Regions from separate parts of the Homo sapiens genome. Here region 2 is linked to region 1. Evidence: promoter capture Hi-C in 16 types of primary human blood cells and fetal thymus (Javierre and others, 2016). All regions are on one chromosome and are shown on one strand. The core of a region is centred on a gene start or on the middle of the fragment in contact, and the rest is flanking DNA. Distances in the headings are between cores, read along the strand shown.

What was found. Contacts are between HindIII fragments. The CHiCAGO score rates a contact against its expected background, and 5 or more counts as called.
Region 2: a fragment that was not itself captured here is called in contact with the fragment with the promoter of SNX20 in region 1 in 2 of 17 cell types (neutrophils and activated CD4 T cells); the score reaches 6.3 in neutrophils.

What each region holds. Positions count from the first base shown.
Region 1 is chr16:50,679,864-50,682,563 of GRCh38, reverse strand. SNX20 (sorting nexin 20) reads left to right here and starts at 1,252. Exons shown (of 4, transcript NM_182854.4): 1 at 1,252-1,374. The HindIII fragment of the contact is 15,976 bases long and covers 1-2,700 here.
Region 2 is chr16:50,811,344-50,814,043 of GRCh38, reverse strand. No RefSeq gene overlaps it. Among named protein-coding and RNA genes, the nearest start is that of LINC02168, 6.0 kb to the right of the region's middle. The HindIII fragment of the contact is 5,044 bases long and covers 1-2,700 here.

The DNA.
Region 1 (2,700 bases), core at 3-2,502:
GCCACCCTAGGAACAACCCAAGTGTGCATCAAAAGACAAAACAAAAAATGACAAATGGTGATGTATTTAAATAATGAAGCAACAGAAAACCAAACACAGCATGTTCTCACTCATAAGTGGGAGTTGAACAGTGAGAACACATGGACACAGGGAGGGGAACATCACACGCTGGGGCCTGTCAGGGGTGGGGGCCAGGGGGAAGGAGAGCATTAAGACAAATACCTAATGCATGCAGGGCTTAAAACCTAGATGATGGGTTGATAGGTACAGCAAACCACCACGGCACATATATACCTATGTAACAAACCTGCAGGTTCTACACTGGTATCCCAGAACTTAAAGTAAAATAAATAATAATAATAATGTAGCAACACAACAATGGAAATGAAAAAAAGTATCTACACAGAAATGCATCAGTGAATCTTATACCCATAAATGTTGCATGAAAGAAGCAAGGCACTGGAGAATACACACAGTATGCATGGTTCAATTTATATAAGATTCACAGATGAGTAAAATGAAACTGAATTGTTTGGGGATCTCATAGGTGGTAAATTTCTAAGGAAAAGCCAAGAAGTAACCCCCATCTGAATCAGGACTGTGACTGCCTCTAATAGGGAGGAAGGGAATCATGGCTCAAAAAAAAACACATGGCAAACTTCTGGGCGAGCCAGCAAAGTTCTATTTTTTTTTTTTTTGTCTGATTTCTGTTTCTTGCCTTCAAGGCCACAAAGATGGGTGGGCATGAATCACACCACACTGCCCTGGGGTTTCGCTTCCCTGGGACTTTCTGTTGGTGGTGATGGATACAGCTTTGCTCAGAGAAAAGGCACCAGATGGAACTGTAATTCTACCCCACTGCTCTTCTATGTCAGTCACTGGCTCTGTGTCCCACCAGCTCTGTGATCCAAGCCTCGGTTTTCCCATCTGTTCAAGGGGCATGACGGCCCCCATCATGCCTAGCTCATAGAGTAGAATAATGAATGTTAAAGGGCTCTGGGAGCTAATGCCTGAATTCCAGAGATCAACGGGGACTCGAAGGACAGCCAGACCTCTGCAAGGCGGCAGGGAAAGTGAGGCTGAGCTAAATCCCACAGGGCTGGCCCCACACCGCCTTGCCCTTCCCTGCGCTACCCGGAAGAAGAGGTGGGTACAGCTGGCAGGCTGGCAGTTGAGTTCAATATACCATGTTTCACCAGCCAATGGGCTGGGGCGATCAGAAGCAGGTCACACAGCCTGTTTCCTGTTTTCAAACGGGGAACTTAGAAAGTGGCAGCCCCTCGGCTTGTCGCCGGAGCTGAGAACCAAGAGCTCGAAGGGGCCATATGACACTCCTCCCGGACCCCTGGACACACACAGCCCTGGAGACTGGAGGTCAGTATTTGATCCCAAGCTCAGCTGTCCTCTGCCTGCTGTGGCCTGAGTCCCCTTCTCCTGGGGCCCTGCCTGGCACCTGCTGGGGGCAGGGTGGGAGGGGGAAGAGTTAGTGACAGCCACTGTGTCTGGAGCTCTCCTTAGCACACTGAGGCAGAGGAAGGGACAGCTCCTGGACCTTCCATCACCTCCATTCCTTTTGAAATGCTAGGCGCTTGTACAACCCATCTTGGGCCTGGAGAATAAGTCACCACACCTGTGTTTCTCAAAAGAACAGTGTCAGGGAACCCCTGCCTCAGCACAGCCTTAGAGGACTCATGGAAAATGCAGAATCCAGGCCTGTTCAATGGCACCTTCCTATGTTAGCAGCCAGGAAACCTGCTCTTGGACAAGCCCCTGGGATCCCACCCCCACCCCACCAGGGGATTCTTACACACACTGGGTTGGGAGCCCCTGGCTTTGGCAAGGCTTCTCAGGTGAGCGTCCAGTTGTTGGAGGGTACCCACCCTTTCCCCAAGAGAGGCAGCCACACATCCAACATCCTGGGATCTCTGTCTCCCAGCGTGGGCCATGTGCTTTATTTCACCCCCTAGAGGCTCATCCCCCATGAAAAGTCCTCCGCAGGCCCTCAGAAAGATAGTGTGGCCTCTGTGTGCCCAGCAGAAGAAGGACTGGACTTGGCAGTCAGCTCTTGGAGAGGGGGTGGTTAGGACACCTGGGGACAGGAGGAGGAGAATGACTGTCTGTGCACACACGGCTGGAAGGCAGAGGAGGCTGGGAAGCTGCTCTGTCCCCTGGGCCAACTACAGGCCCCCAGGCCAACAGCAACAACACTTTTAGTATTTTGTTATAAAGTCAAGAAATCTTTGCTACAGAGGGTGAGGAGAGGGAAGGAAAGGGCCATGGAACCGTCTATGTGGCTATCCCCAGAGAGCTTTTAGAGTGACAGGATTGCTTTCCCATTTCACAGATGAGGAAACTGAGGCCTGGAGAGGGATGGGAAGCTACCCAAGGCCCCATGGATACACCAGTGCACAACTCTTTCCTTCCCCCTCCTCTTTAAATGGGTGACTCCCAATGAAACCTGTAAGAGACAACCATAAGGGAGCTGACTGTGGCTGCTGAATTTGATTTTATTCTAAGGCCTGGTTTTATAATCAGCTTTCTCAGTCTTTACTGGAGTGTCAAGCCGAGGCATCATTTCTAGGGTCTTACAGGGTCTCTGGGCCAATAGTGCCCTGCTTCTGACCTGGAGCCAGCTGCCTGGTCATGAAAGCAGATCTGCAAAGGCTGGGGCCCCTGAGGCCAAGGCCACTCGCCATCACC
Region 2 (2,700 bases), core at 158-2,657, 130 kb before region 1:
CTGCAAGGTCTTTGTGACCTGTATTTTGTGCCGACCTCTTAGCTCATCTTGTGACTTAGAATGCCTTAACCTGCTGGGAATGCAGCCCAGTAGGTCTCAGCCTCATTTTACCCAGCCCTTATTCAAGATGGAGCTGCTCTGGCTTAAACGCGTCTGGCACATACAGAGTTAAAAAAAAGAAAAGTTGCCAGATTTGTACAGATCAGGAACTTTTGCTTCTCTTAGAAATTTCTGACTTCGTCTGAAAAATCAGAACATAGGCCAGGTGCGGTGGCTTACGCCTGTAATCCCAGCACTTTGGGAGGCCGAGGCGGGTGGATCACGAGGTCGGGAGTTCAAGACAAGCCTGGCTAAGATGGCGAAACCCTGTCTCTATTAAAAATACAAAAAAATTAGCCAGGCATGGTGGCACTCACTGCTACGCAGGAGGCTGAGGCAGAGAACTGCTTGACCCCGGGAGGTGGAGGTTGCAGTGAGCTGAGATCGCACCACTGCACTCCAGCCTGGGCAGCAGAGCGAGACTCCGTCTCAAAAAAAAAAAAAAAAATCAGAATATACTGGCCTGCTTCTTCCTTTCCTTTACCATATCAGCTCTCCACCAACACTCCAACCTTCTCCCTTCCCTAAGGTACCTGCCTGGCCCCTGTAGGCAAGTGAGCTTGAGAGTCCCAGTCTAGGATCCTTCATTTTACAGATAGAGGGACTGCGGTTCATAGACAGACATCTTGCCAAGGATCATGGAGTGACCAGAGTCCAGTAGCTTGGGTATGACTGGTTTCACAGAGCACCCAGCTCGAACTGGTGGCCCCCAGCGAGGTGGATCGGCCCCTGAGTGGGCACTGTCCCTGCCTGGCTCTAGCCAAGGCCTGGAGGGAAGAGACTGCCCATAGTGAACCAAAGCTCAAGGCTCAAGGGCTCCTAGACAGTGGGGATGAAAATGAGCCAACACCATGCACTGGACGTTTGCCATTGAAAGCAACAGGCTGAACTGGGTAATTCTAGATGATCCAGATGTGGGTGAAGGAAATTCTTCTGTGGCATGCCAAGGAGAAAGGGACTGGAAAAGTCTTCCCGCCCAAAATAGCATGGTGCAAAAAGCACCCAGCTTGGAAATGCCCATGTGAAATGGCCGGTGGCCGCGCAGCTTCCTGAGAATCATTCAGTCTCCCGACAAATATGGGAGGAGGCCACAGTTGGTGCCCCCTGTTCTGGTTGCTGATGAGACAGGGACAATGTGGTTTTCACCCTCTGGGGGACCCACTGCCGAGCTGACAGATGAGTATAAAGCATTGCGCAAATGCAAGGACTCCTGGAGGGGGTGTGGGGACCGTGGGCACCTCGGGCTCACGTAGAAGGAGCTGAGACTTCGTCTCTACTCAGGCAAGTGCCTGGGAATATGGCTTTTGTATAGGGACAGGCTTGACTTCCTCCTGAGTGTGTCCACCTGAGGCAGGAGGTGGCAGGTTGGTGAGGAGGGAGAGGTGGGGATGGTGCAGGCCTAAGGCCTGGAAGAGCACTGGGGAGCCGCTGAGGGACAGGGTGGAATCAGGAGCTAGAGCCCTCTTGGCTGCAGAGTGTACGGCTGAGGCCACCAGCCCTGCCAGACTGTGGAATCCTCACAGTTCAGGAAGCCCAAGGAAGATTGGTGTTTGAGTCACTTAAGGAAGGCCTGGTGTGCATGGCAGGAAGAGGCTCCTCTCCACCCAGGAAAGCCTGCAGAGCTCGGACCAAGCGCCAGCCCCAGGCGCTGGGCCTCCCTAGTCAGAGCCTCGAGCTGCCCTACAATGTCCCAGGGTGAAATGGCCCCCCGTGAACACGGACTTCCCATGCTGGGGTTCTGTTCCAGCTCTGCCTCTAACTCTGCCCGTGGGTGCAGCCCTGCCTCCCTAGGCAGCAGCCTTTAAAGTTGGAGAACTTTAGAAAATTCTCCAACTTTAAAAAGAAAGATTGAGCTGGGACTGGGAGGCTGAGATGGGAGGGTTGCTTGAGCCCAGGTTTTCCAGCCTGGGCAACATAGTGAGACAGACCCTCTTGCTAATGAATTAAAGAAAGAAAAAGAGAGAGAGAGAAAGAGAGGGAGAAGGGGTGGACCCATCTCAATGGCTCCAGTGACTGAGGTCCTTGATGCTAATGGTAGTCCAGACTAGCTTTCTACTTTCTACACTGCTTTCTGGGCTGACTTTCAGTCTTTTTCTCGACCCTGTGCTGAGCCTGGGTTTTATCAAAAAAAGGAGAAAACACACAGGCACATGCACCTTGAGCTGGAGGTGACTACTCCAAGTCACTGAACTTCAACACTACAGAAAGTTTGTCAGATCCCAGAGTGGTGGCTCATGCCTGTAATAGAGCTTCCGGATGCCCAGGCAGGAGGATCACTTGAGGTCAGGAATTCAAGACCAGCCTGGGCAACATAACAAGATCACCTTCTCTACGAAAAATTTTTAAAATTGGCTGGGCATGGTGGTGCATGCCTGTAGTCCCAGATACTTGGGAGGCTGAGGCAGGAGGATCGCTTGAGCCCAGGAGTTCGAGACTAGCTTGGGCAACATAGTGAGATCCTGGTCTCATAAAAAATAAATTCATGAATGTGTCAAAACTCATCTAACTGCTTACTTAAAATATGTGTATGTTACTGTATGTAAATTACACCTCAGTGGAGTTGGTTAAAAAATAATAATGAAAGAAGGAAGGAGTGTAAAC